3 separate regions of the Homo sapiens genome follow, and all the other regions are linked to region 3. The links are contacts of gene promoters, found by promoter capture Hi-C in blood cells and fetal thymus (Javierre and others, 2016). All regions are on one chromosome and are shown on one strand. The core of a region is centred on a gene start or on the middle of the fragment in contact, and the rest is flanking DNA. Distances in the headings are between cores, read along the strand shown. Region 1 overlaps NKAIN2 (sodium/potassium transporting ATPase interacting 2). Region 2 overlaps NKAIN2 (sodium/potassium transporting ATPase interacting 2). Region 3 holds the start of NKAIN2 (sodium/potassium transporting ATPase interacting 2).

Region 1 (2,700 bases), core at 52-2,551, 960 kb after region 3:
TGAAATTGGAGAAAAGTGAAGGGAATAAATTGCACACATCCCAGTGGCAGGAAAACAAAGGACTCATTAAAGAATAGAGAATTGATCTGGCTGGAATGTTGACTATCGGAGAGCGTTGGTTTGCAGGAGCAGGAGCAGGGGTGCCCCTGGGTAAGAAGAAGTCTAGAGGGATTTCAGACTAGAAAAGGTAAGTAGAACTTCACTGTAAATCTGAGGAATTTGGATTTTATTCTGTCAGTGACAGGAAAGAATTAAAGTCAAAGTGCTCTTGATAGTTCTTTTGTTTGCATGTACTGTTCAGTGTTGAAAATGGGTAAACCTGGAGAACATTATGCTAAGTGCAATAGGCCAGGCACAGAAAGTCAAACACCATGTCTCACTTATACGCAGAATCTAAAAAAGTTGAACTTATAGAAGCAGAGAGTAAAATGGGGTTGGGGGAAAGCAGGGTGATTGGGGAGCTGTTTAGCCAAAACATTCAAACTTTTAGTTAGACAGAAGGAATAAATTCAAGAGATCTATTGTACAACATGGTGACTATATGTATAATATTAGTTCTTGCACTGCTATAAAGAAATATGTGAGACTGGGTTATTTACAAAGAAAAGAGGTTTAATTGGCTCACAGTTCTGCAGGCTGCACAGGAAGCATAGCAGCTTCTACTTCTGGGGAGGCCTCAGATAACTGCCAGTCATGGCAGACGCAAAGAGGGAATGAGGCACTTCTTACACAGCTGGAGCAGGAGCAAGAGATGGAGGGAGGTGCCACACACTTTTAAACAACCACATCTCACAAGAACTCAGTCACTATCAGGAGAATAGCACGAAGGGGGCAATCTGCCCCCATAATCCAATCATCTCCCACCAGGCCCCACCTTCACCATTGGGATTACAATTCAACATGAGATTTGGGTGGGGACACAAATCCAACCCATGTTACTATAGTTGATAAAGGGTTGTTTACTTGACAACTGCTGAAAGAGCAGATTTTAAATGTTCTCGACATGAAAAATAAGTATATAAGGTAATAAATATGTTAACTAGATTGATTTAGCCATTCCACAGACATATTTTAAAACATGGTGTTTTAAACAACATTCATAGATACTGTTTTTATTTGTCAGTTAAAGTGTATATAATTTAAAAATAAAATAAGCTCTATATTAACAGTAGTCTGTATTATAAAGCATTTGCTTCCCTCAAATGTTTCAACATTTCCTATGTCATAACTGGACCCCAAACTTAGCTGAAATTTTCATATACATATTCTTAAGGACCTAAACCAGTGGTTTGCTTTGGTCCTATGATCACCCTTCACAAAGTCTGACACTTCTGCATTATTTATATCAGTATTTCTCCAACTATAGTCTTTGGCTCTTTAGATATCTATGAACTTATTCTGAGGAGTGGAAGAAACTAGTCTTTTTTAATTTGTAGGTTCTTAACATGGGGTTCTTGAGCAGAGGTGAGAAAATAATTGCATATTTTATTTTCACTAACTTCTAACTGAAATAAAACATTTCTCTTTAAAGTAAATTGGCAACACAGGCAGATTTTTTATAGGTCATTACAATTACTGTGAAAACCTTGAAAGTTTTTTAATGCTTATCACTAATTTAAAATTATGGGGGTTATCAAACCTGATGACAGATCTCATTATTTATTGGTAATAAAAATTCACCAATAATATATTTGTCAATGTTATGATTTTTTAGATATTTTGATTACTGTAATTCTGGATAATTGGTTTCATCTTACTGGTTGAATTTAGTTTTATGCTTTGAAAAACTATCCTGAGAAGCAGCCCGTAAGCTACAAGAGACAGGCAGAAGAGTCTATGGGATAAAAATGGTTAAGAATCCACAACTTAGAAGGAGTCTATAGTATTACTCCAGTCTAGGGGTGGAGGGAGAACTGCCTTCTGTTATCACTCCTTGCTTTAAGAAACCTGTGTTCAGGCTTTTGCTTTGAATACTAAACCATCTATTTCTGTATTTATCATATTTCTTTGAGTCGATACCTTTGAGCCTTCCTAGATGGCTTCTTATCACTTGAAGTTGACTATAAATGGATTCTTTTATTTTGTTTACCCTGGAGTCAGAACAGGCAGGAGGAAATCAGGTTGAGAGGAGTAAAGCATCCCAAGGAAAATTTTATCAATTAAATGTTAATGCAAAAAAAAACCTATTCATTCTCTTGATTTGTGTTACTTTAAGGTGAAATCCAGAATATCAAATGAACTTATCAAAAGGATGCCTAAATGCTTTCAACTTTTTGGTGAGTTCTTTAACTAAGTTCCACTAGGTTTAAAATATAAATATATTGTTTCCACTTAAGCAATCTCCAGATAATATTTTAAAAGATAATGAAATAATATCTAAGACCCTCAGATGGAAGCTACTGTATTAAGTGCTAACTCTAATCATTATTTTCTTAAATATTTGGATATTTGGATCTCACTGAAACATGTAACATTCTTTTGAAATGACCTGTGAATAGAAAAATGCAATCAAAGCATGTTGCAGTGGAAGCACCTGCTTCTCTCCGTTCTGTAAGAATAGAGTCTCAATGAATAGCCTGCTGAAATTCCAATGGCTTTATCAAATGAGACCCTGACCAGGTTTTCCAACAATATTTAAAGCCTCCCTTAGTGATTTCACTGCATTTACAGAGAGACCTCAACAATCAAGAAGGAAATGTG
Region 2 (2,700 bases), core at 155-2,654, 980 kb after region 3:
AAATTTCCGAAGTTTTCAGTCATTATTTCTTTGAAGACTTTTTCAGTGCTGACCTACTTCTCCTTTTCCTTCAGGACTCCAGTGGGGGAAAAAAAAGTTAGGTCTTTTGTTATTTCCATGAGTCTCTGAGGCTCTGTGCATGTTTTCCAGTTTACTTTGTCTCTGTTTCTTAGTTTAGGTAATTTCTATTGTTCAATCTTCAAGTTCACTGATTCTTTCCTCTGTCACCTCCACATTTTTCAGTTCTAAGTTTTCAGTTTGGTTCTTCCTTATATATTCTGTTTCTTTGCTGAGACCTTCTAATATTTTAATTTATTTCAGGCATGTTTGTAATTGCTTATTGGAGCATTTTTGCGATGTCTACTCTAAAATATGTGTCAGAAAATCTTAACATCTCTATCACCTCTGTGGTTAGGTTACATTGGCTGTCTTTTCATTCAGTTTGAGGCCATCCTCACTGTTGGTATGATTAGTAATTTTTAATTGAAACATGGACATTTGGGGTATTATGCTATGAGACCCTAGATCTTAATTAAACCTTTCATTTTAGTTGATTCCTCTGATGCTGTTTTGATGGGAGAAGGAGGGATGCTGACTTATTTCTGCCAATTGGGGATAGAAGTCCAGGGTTCCCACTTAGCCTCCATTGAGACTTAAGGTGGGAAGGGCTTTTCATTAAGTTTGGGAGGCTGTGGAAGGTCCTGCCCCCCACTAGCCTCTGACTGATAGCTCCATATCTGGCAAGAGCCTTATTACTGCTCCAAGGTGGCTTTCACTGATGCCATGGGGGTGGCGGACTGGCCTCAGTACTGCTGGGCATTGGTAAAAGTCCTGATCTTCTACTAAGCTTCCACTGACATCACCCCAGTGGGGAGAAGAGAGTGTCTGCCTTGTTACTGGAGAGTGAGGCTAAAAGTCTGGATTACTTACTCATGAGGCAGTGGGGAAGTCTTGGCTCCCTACTCTTTGTTGCTGTGGTTGGGGAGTGGGGCTACAATTTTTGTGTTTTTGTTTTGTTTTGTTCTGTTTTCTATGGTGTTGGCTAAAACAAAGAGGTACTATCACTGTAAAATTTTCTGTCTTGCTAGGCTGCCTTTTCCCTTTTCTCTGGTCTTTTGGCTAGAGACAGCAAGGGTTTACTGGGGCTTTTAAAAAATCTGTACCTGTTGGCATTTCAGAGTTATAGGCTTCTTCAGCTCCAAGTAAGTCTGGTGTATATGAAATAATAATAATAATGGAATTCACCCTCATGTACTTTTTTGAGTACCAAAGGCCATAGCTGGTCTGCCTCAAAGTCTTCTTGTAATTGTTATATATATAATGTTCAGAGTTTTTAGTTATACTTAATAGGAAAGATAGGGAAAGGTATCCTTCCCATTGCTCCAACTTCCCAGAAACCGAAATCCAGAATGTAATAGATTAAACGCTAAGGTTGCTATATTTTCAATTATTACAATTAAATCTTTTAAAATACTTACCAAAAGGCTTTGGTTTCATTTTTTCTATTAGCTTCTAAGTGAATTTCTGGGACATACAATCATAATTTGGTCTGTGGATACAAAAAAGAATTTTAATCTGATTTAGTTATACAGAGAAAATATCATTTCCTTCCAGTCAGTGATAATATCAAGATGACATGTAATTCCTTACCAGGTGAATTAGAAGTGAACAAATCACATTAGATACATGAAGGTGAAAAGATAAATAAAAAAAAAATTATACTTAGCTCTGCTTTGAATGACAAAGACTAAAACAACTAGAATATTTTATTTCTTTCACTAGTGGATAATTGTGTGTTTGCCTAGGATAATGCCACAGGTCCCTTCCATTATTATTCTAAGCATCTTTAAATCAGGAACAAAATAAAATTATTTTCTTTCAATTGAAGATACTCATATCTACTCTAACAACATGAGCCTCTATTATCTGCTTTGTGCCGTGTTACTTCCCTTTATACAGCCCAAGCTTCTCTGAACTGGGCCACTTCCTCCTCCCTATTTCTTCCCAGCTCTAGTCTAAACTCCACTTGGAAGATGTACTCTCCATCTCTCCGTACCCCTCTTTATTCCATTTCAAGCCCTCCCACCTCTCAAGGTCTATCTCAAAAGTGCCAAGCACCAACCTACTCCGAGAATGGATTACCAGTTCTTGGAGGAAGCAGCACCTTTATTCAGCCTTAAAGAATGAATTAGTGTCCATTAGTTGTTTTTCCTGATGGATATTAACTCATTCTTTAAGGTCAGCTTAATACCGGGAGATGAAATAATCTGTACAACAAACCCCCATGACACAAGTTTACCTGTATAACAAACCTACATATGAACCCTAGAACTTAAAATAACAGTGAATTAAAAAATTAAAAAGAAGACCCGGGAAGTAAGCAGGCAGTACTGCCATGTAAAGCTTTATATCCAGCTTAGCAACTCAGGACTCTGTTTTCAAAAACAAATGCAAAAAAAGAATGAGTTAGAATTACTCATTACTGGAGGTGCAAGGCTGACTAGGGAGGGGAAGGAAGAGGTACAGGGCATTAGCATTCTTTGTTGGCAGACTGGGAAAATGAGTTAAGGAACAGAGAAGGAAAGCTACCTGATAGATGTCAGCAAGCTACCAACAGCTTTCTACTGACATCAATTCTGACAAGGATTGGTGAGAGATGAGGCTAGAAAGGAAGACAAGTATCACATCAGGAAGGATTTG
Region 3 (2,700 bases), core at 3-2,502:
ACTTCCTGGAAAAGTTAGGATTGCTTTCCTTAGCTGCCAGGGCTAAAAAGGAAACTTGGTCCTAAATATCCACGCCCCAGGGGCAGCCACTTGGGCCAGCATGTTGCGCCCTTCAGCTTTCCGCCCGCAGGTGGCAGCAGCGGGCTCCGAAGCCTGTCTCTGCAGGTAGCAGCCGCTTCACAGCTTTCAGGCCGGTGCTCAGCGGAGGCTGGTGCATCTCCACTAGGAATCCACACCCAGCTGGGACTGCTGTGAAGCTGAAGTAACTGAGTATTAAACTAGTCTCCGACTCTTTAGTATTTTAAGTGAAAACAAACAACAGTTTGAAGCAGCAACAGCAACTCATTGCATCCCTATTCCCTCCGGTTGCTAATTTTTCCCAACTCCAGCAGCAACTCGGTCCCCTTCCCCAAGCAGGGTCGGCTCCGTAGCTCTCCGCGCTCCGACCCTTCAGATCCTCGGGAGCCCAGGGGAGCCAGGTGCTGGGCGGTGCGTCCGGTGCCGCCGCGCCCCTTCTCGCCACCTCTGGCCTCTCCGCCACTCGGGCTTTCCGGCCGCTCTGGATGCCTCGGTTGCACCCCTGTTCCATGACCCCAGCTTCCTTCCCTAACCCTCCTCTTGGTCCCTTCTCCCCCGAGCGCGCGCGCACACACACACTCGGTTCGCTCCCGCGGAGTGGCTCTGGGAGCACGACCGACTTCAGCTCAGCAAACCGCGGTCATGCCGCCCAGACTCCTCGCCCCGAGGCCCCGGTCCCCGCCGCCGCCGCTTTCGCGCCGCTCCTTTCCGCCTAGACACCGCCGCCTGCGGCCGCCTGGGCGGCAGCCCCTGCGGTCCTCAAAGTTGGCCCCCTGGGAGGGGGCGGCAGGGAGCAGGATGAAGGATTTGTTGTAGGAGGAGGATTCACACATCTGGGCGAAGGGAGGGGCAGCGCCGCTGCTGGGACGCGGCGCGGACCCGCATCATTGCGCGCAGCAGCCGCTGCAGCAGCCGCCGGGGACCGCGGAGCCGGGACGCCCCCGCTCGGCCCGCGCCCCGCTCCCCGCCCCACCCCCGCCCGCCGGGCCCAGCAACGCAGGGTGCCTAGGAGCCGCGGGCTGCGCAGGGAGGCGGGCAGCGGCCCTCGCGCGCTTCTGCCGCCCCCGGAGCCGGCGCGCGGCGAGCGCAGGGCGAGCGCGCGTCGGGCGGCGGCCGCGCTGGGGGGCGTGAGGCGAGCGGCGCGGAGAGCGGCAGGGGCGAAACTTCGCGGGCCAGATGCCCGAGGGCGCGGCGGCGCTGCCAGGCTGCCGCTGCTGCCCCTGCGGGCCCCGAGCGCGCCTCCGCAGGCGGCACTGCCCGCGGCGCGGCGTGTGCACCGAGCGAGTGAAGGTATGTGTGGCGGGCGCGGCTGGAGCTGCCGCCGCCGCCGCCGCCGCGCCAGCAGGTCCTAATGCCTGTCACTTCCCAGGACGCTGGCAGCAGCAGCAGCCCGGAGCCCCCGAGCCCTCGGCAGGTTTGCGTGTCCTTCCCCGCGATCTGATTGGATAAAGTGGGGGCTCGACGGTGGCCGACGTGGGACAGTCTGGCTGTGGCAGGGGTCTCGGAAACCATGGGTTATTGCAGTGGCAGGTGCACGCTTATCTTTATCTGTGGCATGCAACTGGTAAGTGACACTTGGGTCCCCTTATTCTGTAATGTGTCTTTGAGATAGTGGGCAGGGGAGTGCAGCAAAGGGTCTGCCATTGACTAGAATGGACGAAAAAGATAAAAGAGAAGGTGACAGATATATTGCCTATATTGAAGATGATTTCAGGGAGACGCACTCTGGGGTACAGGAGAGGTGAGCCTTTCCGTTCCCACCTATTTCTGTCCCTTTTAAGACAGTTTGGCAGGTGCGGGTTAAACTTGTCTTTAATTTCTTTAGGAAAAGCAAGATGTAGCTCTTGTTCTTTATGCTTTGCATTCCTATTCATGTAACAACGTGATTGTCACCTACAATTTACCGTACAGGTTGTTAAACAGAGGAATACGGAATTTTGGACTTTTCTTCTCTATACTAATTTTGCAGTATCTTTGTTTCTTCATAGACATGTTTTTTTTCTTTTTTTAAGGAAAATGTTGTCTTTAAGTATAATGCTCTAAAAAAACCACTGTTTAGGGCACATGGTATCCTTACAACAGTCTAATTTAGACTGTTTGAGTTTTAGCCACATTGAGTTTTTAAAGTATGCAGATTGAACAAAAATACTTAGGTGAACTCAGCAACACCATTGTCATAGACGGAACCAGTAACCTTTAAATCACAATTAACACAGACAATTCCAAGAAAAACTATTCTGTCTTACATTATGCATATTATTGCTCCTGAAATAGATACTGTTGTCTGATCCTATAGGATGGAGAATTCTATGTACTTTTTGAGGAATGTTGTACAGTTGCAAAGGGGCAAGGAACCAATAATGGAAAACGTCATGTCTCTGAATTTCAATTCCCTAAGGGCAATGGAAGGAGGGTCTGAGTAGAGAGTTGAGAGGTGAAAAATACACCACTCTAAGTGGTTAATTTGAGGTAGGAGCTACTTGCTCACACTTGTCATTAAATATATTTCCTTAGAAAGTATAAATTAACTGGAATAGTCATGTCCGTTTTCAACAACTGTTTCATAAAGGTTGAAGTGACTACAAGGCAGAAGATGTTTAAGTGTCCAATCAGTAAAGTGTT

Evidence for each region. Contacts are between HindIII fragments. The CHiCAGO score rates a contact against its expected background, and 5 or more counts as called.
Region 1: a contact is called between a fragment that was not itself captured here and the fragment with the promoter of NKAIN2 in region 3, in 2 of 17 cell types (M0 macrophages and endothelial precursors). The highest score is 7.7, in M0 macrophages.
Region 2: a contact is called between a fragment that was not itself captured here and the fragment with the promoter of NKAIN2 in region 3, in 6 of 17 cell types (monocytes, M1 macrophages, M0 macrophages and 3 more). The highest score is 12.2, in monocytes.

Annotation. Positions count from the first base shown.
Region 1 is chr6:124,762,696-124,765,395 of GRCh38, forward strand. The region is part of intron 4 of NKAIN2 (sodium/potassium transporting ATPase interacting 2); the gene reads left to right. Among named protein-coding and RNA genes, the nearest start is that of RNF217, 200 kb to the right of the region's middle. The HindIII fragment of the contact is 6,999 bases long and covers 1-2,700 here.
Region 2 is chr6:124,784,982-124,787,681 of GRCh38, forward strand. All of the region lies in intron 4 of NKAIN2 (sodium/potassium transporting ATPase interacting 2), which reads left to right. Among named protein-coding and RNA genes, the nearest start is that of RNF217, 180 kb to the right of the region's middle. The HindIII fragment of the contact is 1,118 bases long and covers 846-1,963 here.
Region 3 is chr6:123,802,613-123,805,312 of GRCh38, forward strand. It overlaps NKAIN2 (sodium/potassium transporting ATPase interacting 2), which reads left to right and starts at 1,253. Exons shown (of 7, transcript NM_001040214.3): 1 at 1,253-1,642. The coding sequence starts at 1,589. RefSeq lists an enhancer at 9-58. The HindIII fragment of the contact is 9,489 bases long and covers 1-2,700 here.